Regions from separate parts of the Homo sapiens genome. Here region 2 is linked to region 1. The links are contacts of gene promoters, found by promoter capture Hi-C in blood cells and fetal thymus (Javierre and others, 2016). All regions are on one chromosome and are shown on one strand. Each heading gives the region's core, a stretch centred on a gene start or on the middle of the fragment in contact. The rest is flanking DNA. Distances are from core to core; before and after follow the strand shown. Region 1 holds the start of CLEC2B (C-type lectin domain family 2 member B). Region 2 has its middle 20 kb from the start of CLEC7A.

What was found. The method cuts DNA at HindIII sites, captures the fragments that hold promoters and counts their contacts. A CHiCAGO score of 5 or more calls a contact.
Region 2: a fragment that was not itself captured here is called in contact with the fragment with the promoter of CLEC2B in region 1 in 1 of 17 cell types (monocytes); the score reaches 5.5 in monocytes.

Annotation. Positions count from the first base shown.
Region 1 is chr12:9,868,104-9,873,726 of GRCh38, forward strand. It overlaps CLEC2B (C-type lectin domain family 2 member B), which reads right to left and starts at 1,251. Exons shown (of 5, transcript NM_005127.3): 1 at 1,102-1,251. The HindIII fragment of the contact is 5,556 bases long and covers 1-1,365 here.
Region 2 is chr12:10,147,058-10,152,558 of GRCh38, forward strand. No RefSeq gene overlaps it. Among named protein-coding and RNA genes, the nearest start is that of CLEC7A, 20 kb to the left of the region's middle. The HindIII fragment of the contact is 1,645 bases long and covers 3,061-4,705 here.

The sequences.
Region 1 (5,623 bases), core at 1-2,500:
ATACTGAATATATTATTCAGTAACTTTTAAAATATATTCATATGTAATATGATATATAATATTGTATTATATAATGTATTTATATACAAATGTATAAATTTATACAATTGATTGAAAGTAGAAAATAACACTGGTTTTACTAGTGGCTGGAAGGCCTTCTTAAAACTTTTGATTAAAATGATATTTTATGCTACCATCAAATATTGATCTCATTCCCCGCAAACCTGTTTTATCTAACTTTAGGCAGAATTATAAAACCGGTTAAAATACGGGAGGAAGGATAAAGTGTGCATTCTATTGTACCACAGCAATAATTTTTTTGACCGTAGCATACGCTGGTAGGTTGACATTTAGTTAAACGGGAAATGCTTAAAGCTCATCACAGTCCCTAAATCTCTAAATCATAGATCGTTGTATTGAATGCATTTAGTTTCAGCCTTTTCTCTTTCAAATATTTTGACATAAATAAACCCTGTTGAAATCTCAAAGATGTAGCTTGGATCTTATATATTCCGAACTTGCTATTTAATAAATCCAATGTTACCAGGTTGTTTCATAGTGTATTTTTTAGAACATTTTCTTTCCTTATCCTTCTTAGGGTTGGTAAAGACATCTCCATGGATATCGGAGTACTAGCAATTCCTTAGTAAGAGTAGGAAAGGGATATATTCTTTCCGTTAAGTACTCCTAAAGCCCGGAGTATCTTTACACCATCCAATAAAGCAATCTTTAAAAATATTAGAACTATTGGCTAAATTTATCATATTATGTATGCATTCTGAGAACTGTATGAGTATCTGGATCATATCTATCATCTTCTCAAGTATTTGTTTTATAAAATACTTAGTAAAAATGAAACTAAATCTTGAGCAGTTTTAAGTCATGGTTAATCCTTCTCCATTGTAATTCAAATAATGTAAAGTAAGTCTGAATTTATTAGGACAAAACAGTCATATGCAAATCTCAATCTTGTTATAAGAAGGAATTTTCTAGTTTCACAAAAGAAACCACAAAATTTAATTCTTTTCTCGAAGGCTTTAACATTCTGCATCACAATTTCAATAAATAACGGTCATTCTAAACAAACAAAAATGTTCTTACCGTGCTTCTTTTAATCAGCGTTTTGATTTTCTGCTAGCAGCTTTGTGTCATGTCTTGCAGAAACTCTCTTCAAAGTTGTAACTTTATTTAACTTTAATATAAAAATGTTACTCTTGTTTTTACAGCACAGCTCCAAACTAGAGGTATACCACTTTTGAAGAGTAACTCAAAGTATAAATAGCATTTTGCAAACTGGAAGTAACCATGTGACTATCTATTAGTCATACTGTTGTTTATTACAATTTTCTTCTCGTCAAAAAAGAAAGCTTGCCAAGGAGGAAGGAAGTTTGTGATATAACAATTTAAAGCTGAAGAATAAACACATATTTTCTTACTTTCTCAACTGGGATTCTCATCTGAACCACAGAACACGAAATTGCTCAAGTGGCTGTTTTTCTGATTCATCCAGGAGTGGTACTTAACCACGTATCCTTCCAGAACTGTAGGAGAGGCTGATACTAATTAATTCAACAGCATTCTTTAGGACATTACTGCTTTCTTATCCTGTGTTAAGAAAGATCACCTTAAAAGCGATAGAATCAAAGAAAAAGCAATGGTTTAAACTTTGGCTACTGAAAGAAAAACAAAAACTATTATCTCTCTCTCAAAGACAAATGCGTGCAAAGTCACACGTGTGGGTGTGAGCACACACACAAACACACACAAAGACACACAGAGGGAAAAAAGAAAACGAAAGTAACAAAGTGCCCAGAACGTTATCATCAGCATACAAGATGACACCATTATGCTTTTGCTAAGTTACCAGGCCACAATTTTGTCTTCAAATCTGCTCTAATCAGTTTCCCAGTGATTTTGTATTACCCCTCAACAAATATATTAGGGAGGAAACTGAGGAGAAGAAGCCAGTGTCCCGCAAGCGGCTTCGGGATTAACACTGCATTTGTTCTGAGAGAGAAACTTGAAGAGGAAAAGCAAATGAGAATAGAGAAGAAACTGTAGTACAAAGGAATTAAAACAAAGAAAATATGAAGAGAATAAGAAATACAGGTTTAATCATTTCTGGGCAGAAGGAAAGGACAGATAACAAAATTGCTCTTTTCATTTTTGGACAGAAAAAAAAGACAGAAAATTCATGAGGAAATGAATATATTCTACCTTTGTTGTTAACAAAAGATTGTATCCAAAGAACTATTAGAAAAGCATGTATAGAAAAATATAGAGATTACTCAAGTATGGTTGAGTGAAATTTAGTTTTGTTCCAAAAAGGAAAACAGTCAAGATACAACAGTTAAGATATAAAACATTTTCAACACAGGGAAATGTTCCCCGCTGTTGCTTTGCAGTTCATCCTCACCCCTGAAGCCAGGCAGCAGCCAACTTACTGTCAATAAACATGAGCTTTGCTGGTTTTAGAAATTCCTGTTAAGCAGAATGATACAGTTGGCAATTCTTGTAAGTCTGATGTCTTTCACTGAGCATAATGTTTTTGAGTTTTATCCATGTTTTTGCACAGATCAGCAGTTAATTTCTTTTTATTACTGAGTAGTATTTCATTGTACAGACATAAAATATTTTTATCTATTTTATAATAAAATGTATCCATTATGACATTGAGCTTTTTCCACTTCTTGGATATCATAAGGTCAAAATAAACATTTATGCAAAAGTTTTTCTATTGACACGTTTTTTAATCTTTTGAAGAAATACCTGGATGTGAAACTGCTAGGTTACATAGAAAATGTATGTTTTATTTTATAAATGTATTTTTTTCCAAAAAGTTGTGCCATTCCCAACATGAATATTGGATGGTTCTATTTGCTCCACATAAATAGCAATATTAGATATGCCCAATCTTTTTCAATTTAACCATTCTAGTAGGCGTGTAGTAGAATCTAAATGTGATTTTAATTTGTACATCTCTGATGTTATATTGAGCATTTACTCACGTGCGTATTGGTAACTCATATATCTTTTTTCAATGACCTATTTAAATATTTTTCCCATTTTTATGGATTTATTTGTTTCCTTATGGTGATTTTTAAGATTTTATATATATGTAAATATATATGTAGAGAAACATACACATAAAAATGTGTATATAAATAAGTAAAATGGGTTGCAACATAATATAGAAAAATTCCATTTTTAGATAAATGTATTAAAAATACTTTCCATCATTTGTATAGTGACTTTTCACAATTTTTTTTCTCAAAAATTTTAAAAATCTAGAAGCTTCTAAACGTTGGACTCTCTAATCCTAACAAAGTTACATGTTCTCCCTTGTCGAGGTCATGCCTTTTTCCTTAAAGAAAATATTGTGCCCTTCACACCCTCCTTACAGGAATCCCTCCCTTACTTGCCTTTCTTAGTTATTGGTCATAAGGCCAATAACTAAGGTTATGTGCTAAGCTTATAAGGGAGAGAAAGGGCTATACTCAGAATGAATTTGGACCTAACCAATATATAATAACAACAGCTTGGAGTGTACACAATGGGATTGGATTCTGAGGGTGCTAGATCATGAGAGAAACATAAAGCTGGATAAGGGAGATTTTATCAACATTAGGGCATTCAGTTGCAATACAGAATTTAATAACTTGGAAAAATACTGTGAACAGTGCTGACATACTGCTGAAATAACTCCAAGAAGATTGGAGAAAGCAATGGCTCACGCTGAGTAGAGTAACATTCCAGAATTCCCATGGCAGGTAGCTGAAGAAAAGATAAAAATGCTTAGAGAAGTGGGCATGCTACAGTGGATAAACTAGATAAGGACAGGAAACCCACCAACTGACTATGTTCTATGGGATGATATAATGGGCACCTTATTTACCAAAGCAGTAAGGAAGGCGCTGGTGGAAGAACTTAAGTCCTACATAAACATCACTGAGAAGCTTAGCATAGTTCTTCTCTACATGCCAAAGATTACAGTGGGAGATGTTCCCACAGAACTGAATTCAGAGAGAGTATTGGGACAGGGTTTGAAGTAGGAAACGCCAAGTGTCAGAGTGCCACTCTGAAACAAGCTGGGGCCAATTATAGTAATGAGGGTCAAATTGCAATAGCAGCCAGGATTACTGACATATAGAGCCATAGCAATGTCAGATAGAGCTCAATGTTCACAGAAGTAATATAGAGAGCCAAAAAGGGTGCTTCCACTTCTGTGCTGTCCTTTAACAACTGGTGGAACAGAGAAAAACACACACATAACAAGCTCTGGTTTGTAACACCAGCTGATTTCCGTGATGTAATTATTCCCACCATTGCTGATTTCAAGGTACCCAGGTGACATCACTGAACACACAGAGTTGGAAATAAATATGCAGTAGTACAGCATTACGTATTATTTTCACTATACGGATGTAACAGATGTTAATAATTTCATGCATGGATAATAGCAAAATCTTCTAAAAATCATCACAAATTGATGAGTTCTAAGTATTTATTTTATTAGCTTGGCATTAGGGCCACAATGACTCCAAATGTCATGACCCAGGTTAGGTTCCAGCCCATGCTGAGGTCTGAGGGGAGTGGGTGGATGGGCGATAGCTGAAAGAACACTTGGGGGCCCTAAGCAGGTGAAATGTAGTTTTATTTACCAACAGCGACTCTCTCACACTGTCTGCCTTTATCTCCGCTGTCTGCTCTGGCTCTGGGACTCCTGCCGCCGCCACGCCTGCAGCAGCACGCCCTGGCCTGCAAGGCCAGCTCTGTCAGGATTAGCAGCTTAACTCTTTCCCTCTGGGCACAAGCTCGTTCCTGGTTCCCCTCTGCCTGCCTTCAAGGCGACTGGCTCTCCCTTACAAGGGTCAATAGTGCTACTCTCTTTCTGGGCACCAGTGCGAGCCATGTCATGCCATGCCACGCCATGCTGAGCCAAGGCAAGCCCAAGAGCGCCTGTACAGCATCAGCAGGGCAGTTATACCTTTTCCAAACAATAGTGGATTTGAGCCAAGTATGAGCTTACACAAACAGGTTATATAACAAGTGGAGTTATATGCCTGCACTCCAAACTCATTAAGTCACTATGGCCTGGATGTCTGCCTCAGCCTACTTCTTGACCAAAGCACATTTATGCACCTTACTGTTGGTGCAAAAGTTACTTTAGATAATTTTTAAAAATAATGATGTTTAACAATTGGCTCGAGAACCCTTGAAAATTTAACAGTCAGCTGTATACCACTGACTTTGCTGGACATGTACAACGGGAAAGAAATCAAGGGTGGATTACTAGTAGGCTAAGGGCAACCATGTACTCAAAACGTATAAACTATTACCCTAATCTAGTTTGGCCCAAGCCAGTTTTCTGACAGAGGACCCAATAATGGGAGAACTCATCCTTAAAAAGAAGCCCTCTTCAACACCAAGACTAGAGTAAATGGTAAGTATTTCTCCAGTCCATCCCCAGTGCGACTTATATTAGGCTTCTCAAGCTACCATAATGAAATAACATAGGCTGGGTGGCTTAAACAACAGAAATTTATTTTTCATCATTCTGGAGGCTCAAAGCCTAAGATCAAGGTGCTAGCCAGGTTAGTGTTCAATGAGGTCTCTCTTCCTG
Region 2 (5,501 bases), core at 2,633-5,132, 280 kb after region 1:
CATATTCTTTTTAAGTGTACATGGAAAATTTGCCAAGATAGATCATATTTTTGGCCATAAAATGTCTCAATAAATTTAAGGGTTTAAGTCATTAAAAATGTTTCTTCTCACATGGAAACTAATAGTATAATGATTTCTGGAAAATTCCCAAGTATTTGGAAATTAACACATTCTAAATAATCAATGAATCAAAGAGGAAATTTGAAGGGAAATTAGAAAGTGTTTTGAACTGAATAAATGTGAAAAATTACCATACCAGAATCTGTTGTATACCACTAAAGCAATATTTAAAGGAAAGTTTAAAGCACTGCATGACTATATAAAAAAGAAGAAATGCCTCAAATTAATGAACTCAGCTTCCATATTAAGAAACAAGAAAAAGAAGAAATTAAAACCCAACTAAGTAGAAAAAAGAAACAATAGCAATCAAAGTAGAAATTAATGAAATAGGAAACAAAAATATATAGACAAAGTCAATGAAACAAAGAGCTTTTTTAGACAGCAATTTCAACTTTTATTCTAGATTCAGTGGGTACATATGCAGGTTTGTTACATGGGTAAATTTCATGATGCTGAGGTTTGTAGTGCAGATCATTCTGTCACCTAGGAAGAGAGCATAGTACCCAATAGGTAGTTTTTCAGCTGACATTTCCCTTCCTCCCTCCCTCCCCCTTCTAGTAGTTCCCAGTATCTATTGTTCTCATTATTACGTCCATGCGTACTCAATGCTTAGCTCCCACTTGTAAGTGAGTACATGCAGTATTTGGTTCACTGTTCCTATGTTAATTCACTTAGGATAATGGCCACCAGCTGCCTCCATGTTGTTGCAAACAACATGATTTCATTCTTTTTTATGGCTGTGTAGTATTCCATGGTGTATATGTACCACATTTTCCTTATACAATCCACTGTCAATGGACACCTAGGTTGATTCCATGTCTTTGCTATTGTGAATAGTGCTGTGATGAGCATACGAGTGCACGTGCTTTTTGGTAGAGTGATTTATTTTCCTTCAGATATATATCCAGAAATGAGATTTTCAGATTGAATCATAGTTCTGTTTTAAGTTCTTTCAGAAATCTCCAAACTGCTTTTTATAGTGGCTGAACTAATTTACATTCCCACCAACAGGGTATAAGCATTCTCTTTTCTCTGCAGCCTTGCCACCATCTGTTGTTTTATGACTAATAATAGCCATTCTGACTGGTGAGAGATGGTGTCTCATTGTGGTTTTAATTTGCATTTCTCTAATGATTAGTGATGATGATCATTTTTTCATATGTTTGTAGGCCGCTTGTATGTCCTCTTCTGTGAAGTGTCTGTTCATGTCCTTTGCCTCTTTTTAATGGGGTTATTTGTTTATTGCTTGCTGATTTGTTTAAGCTGCTGCTGCTGCTTCTTTTTTTTTTTTTTTTTTTTTTTGAGATGGGGTTTCGCTTTTGTTGCCCAGGCTGGAGTGCAATGGTGCAATCTCAGCTCACTGCAGTCTCTACCTCCCAGGTTCAAGTGATTCTCCTGCCTCAGCCTCCTGAGTAGCTGGGACTACAGGTGCGTGCTACCACACCTGGCTAACTTTTGTATTTTTAGTAGAGATGGGGTTTCACCATGTTGGCCAGGTTGGTCTCGAACTTCTGACCTCAGGTGATCCACCCACCTTGGCCTCCCAAATTGCTGGGATTACAGGTGTGAGCCACCACACCTGGCCTAAATTTCTTATAGATTCTGGATTATTACACCTTTGTCAGATGCATACTTTACTAACATTTTCTCGTATTCTGTAGATTGTCTAATTTCTCTGTTGATAGTTTCTTTTGCTATGCAAACCTCTTTAGTTTAATTAGGTCCTATTGTTGATTACTGTTTTTGTTGCAATTGCTTTTAAAGATTTAGCCATAAATTATCTGCCTTAGCTGATGTTGAGTAGGGTATTTCCTCGATTTATTTCTAGAATTTTATAGTTTGAGGTCTTAAGTCTTTAATCCATTTTGAATCAATTTTTATGTGTGATGAAAGGTAGGGTTTCACCAGTTTCAATCTTCTGCATATGGCTAGCCAGTATATTCCAGCACTTTTACTGAACAGGGAGTCCTTTCCTATTGGTCGTTTTTGTCAACTTTGTCAAAGACCAGATAATTGTAGGTGTGCAACTTTATTTCTGGGTTCTCTATTCTGTTCCCTCAGTCTATGTGTCTGTTTTTGTACTACTATCATGCTCTTTGGGTTATTGTAGCCTTATAGTATAGTTTGAAGTTGGGTAACATGATGCCTCCAGTTTTGCTCTTTTTGCTTTGGATTGTTTTGACTATTCAGGCTCTGTTTTGGTTCTGTATGAATCTCAGGATTGTTTTTTCTAATTCTGTGAAAAATGATACTTGTAATTTGATGGTAATAGCATTGAATCTGTACATTGCTTTGGGCAGTATGCCATTTTAACAATATTGATTCTTCCAATCCATGGGCATGACATGTTTTTCCATTTATTTGTATTGGCTCTGATTTCTTTCAGCAGTGTTTTGCAGTTCTCCTTGCAGAGATCTTTCACCTCCTTGTTTAGTGGTACTCCCAATAATCATTTTATTAGTGGTTATTATAAGTGGGATTATGCTCTTAACTTGGCTGTCAGCTAGAATGTTACTGGTGTTTAGAAATGCTACTAAGTTGTGTACATTGATTTTGTATCCTGAAATTTTGTTAACATCATTTATCAGTTTTAGGAGCATACTGGCGAAGTCTTTAGAGTTTTCTAGGTATAGAATCATGTTGTCAGTGAAGGGAGATAGTCTGACTTCTTTTCCTATTTGGATACCTTTTAAGTCTTTCTCTTGCCTGATTGCTCTGGCTAGGATTTTTGGTACTATGTTGAATAGGAGTGGTGAAAGTGGACATCCTTATCTTGTTCCAGTTCTCAAGGGAAATTTTTCCAGCTTTTGCCCATTCAATATAATGTTGTCTGTGGGTTTGTCTTAGACGACTCTTATTATTTTGAGGTTATCTTTCTTTAATGCCTAGTTTGTTGAGGTTTTTTTTTTTAACCATAAGAAGAGGTTGGATTTTACTGAAAGCTTTTTCCATGTCTGTTGAGATGGGATCATATAATTTTTATTTTAAATTCTGTTTATGTGGTGAGTCACATATATTGATTTGCATATGTCAAACCAACCTTGAATCATAGATATAGCCTACTTCATTGTGGTTAATTAACTTTTTTTTGTATTATTAATTTTTATTCTTTTTAGAGACAGGCCTCGCTATGTTGCCCAGGCTAGTCTCGAGCTCCTGAGCTCAAGCAGTACTCCTGTTTCAGACTCCCAAAGTGCTGGAATTACAGGCATGAGCCACTGCACCCAACTGATTGTGGTGAATTAACTTTTTGATCTGCTACTGGATTTGGTTTGCTGGTATTTTGCTGAGGATTTTTGCATCTATGTTTATTGAGGATGTTGGCCTCAAGTTTTCTTTTTTGTTCTGTCCGAATGATACTGGCTTCATAGAATGAGTTAGGGAGGAGCCCTCTCCTCAATTTTTTGTAATAATTTCAGTAGAATTTGTACTACTTCTTCTTTGTCCATCTGCTATAATTCAGCTCTGAAGCCATCTTGTTCAAGACTTTTGTTGGTTGGTAGATTTCTTATTATTGTTTCAATTTTGGAATTTGTTATTGGTCTGTTCAGGTTTTTGCTTTCTTCCTGGTTCAATCTTGGGAAGTTATATGTTTCCAGGAATTTATCCATTTCCTCTAGATTTTTAATTTGCATAGAGATTTTCATAATGGTCTCTTAGGATCCTTTGTATTTCTGAGGAATTTGTTGTAATCTCATCTTTGTAATTTCTGATTGTGCTTATTTCTTTTTTTTATTAACCTACCTTATGGCCTATCAATCATGATTATTCTTTCAAAGAACCAGTTCTTGGTTTCATTGATCTTTCATATGGTGTTTTGCAACTCAATTTCATTCAGTTCCTGTTTGATTGTATTTTTATTTTTTATTTTATTTCATTTTTTTGAGACAGAGTCTCACTGTGTCACCCAGGCTGGAGTGCAGTGGCACGATCTCAGCTCACTGTGACCTCCACCTCCTGGGTTCAAGAGATTCTCATGCCTCAGCCCCCCGAGTAGCTGGGATTACAGGCATGCACCACCACACCAGAATAATTTTTTTTTTTTTTGAGACAGAATCTTGTTCTGTCACCCAGGCTGGAATGCAGTGGCACGATCTTGGCTCACTGCAACCTCTGCCTCCTGGGTTCAAGTGATTCTCCTGCCTCAGCCTCCTGAGAAGCTGGGACTGCAGGCAGACACCACCATGCTCAGCTAATTTTTGTATTTTTTAGTAGAGATGGGGTTTCACCATGTTGGCCAGGCTGGTTGTGAACTCCTGACCTGAAGTGATCCGCCCACCTCGACCTCCCAAAGTGCTGCGATTGCAGGCATGAGCCACTGTGCCTGGCCTAGAGTTAGTACTGATATGTGACATTGATCCTGTCATCATGTTCTTAGCTGGTGACTTTGTAGTTTCTATTGCATAGTTGCTTTATATTGTTGGTGGGCTATGTGGTTAAATGCATTTTTGTGATAGCAGGTATCATTCTTTCATTTCCATCTTTACAGCACTCCTATAAAGACGTCTTGTAAGGCTAGTCTAGTGGTAACAAATTCCCTTAAGCATTTGCTTGTCTGAGAAATTTATTTCCCCTTCACCAGTCAAGCTTAGTTTATCAGGACATAAATTTTTTGGTTGGAATTCCTTCTCTTTAAGAACACTGAAAATAGGCCCCAATCTCTTCTGACTCATAAGGCTTTTGCTTAGAGGTCTGCTACTAGCCTGATGGTCCTCATTTTGTAAACGACCTGACCCTTCTCTCTAGATGCCTTTACATTTTTTCTTTTGCATTAACCTTGATGAATCTGATAACTATGTGCCTTGGGAATGCTTGTTGTGTCTAGTATCTCATGGGGGTTATCTGTACTTCTTTTTTTTTTTTTTTTGAGATGGAGTTTCACTCTTGTTGCCCAGGCTGGAGGGCAATGGCACGATCTTGGCTCACTGCAACCTCTGCCTCCCAGGTTCAAGCGATTCTCCTGCCTCAGCCTCCCAAGTAGCTGGGATTACAGGCATGCACCACCATGTCCAGCTAATTTTTGTATTTTTAGTACAGACGGGTTTGCCATGTTGGCCAGGCTGGTCTTGAGCTCCTGACCTCAAGTGATCTACCCACCTTGGCCTCCCAAATGCTGGGATTCAGGCATGAGACAACACGCCAGGCCTTATATTTCTTAAATTTGTATGTTAACATCTCTAGTGGGAGTGGAGAGATTGTCATGGATCGTATCCTCAAATATATTTTCCAAATAGCTTACTCTCTCTCCTCTCTCAGGAATACCAATGAGTTATAGGTTTGGTCTCTCTATATAATTCCATATTTCTCAGGGCTTTTGTCCATTTTTTTAAAATTATTTCTTCTTTATTTTTGTCTGACTGAGTTGATTCAAAGAACCAGTC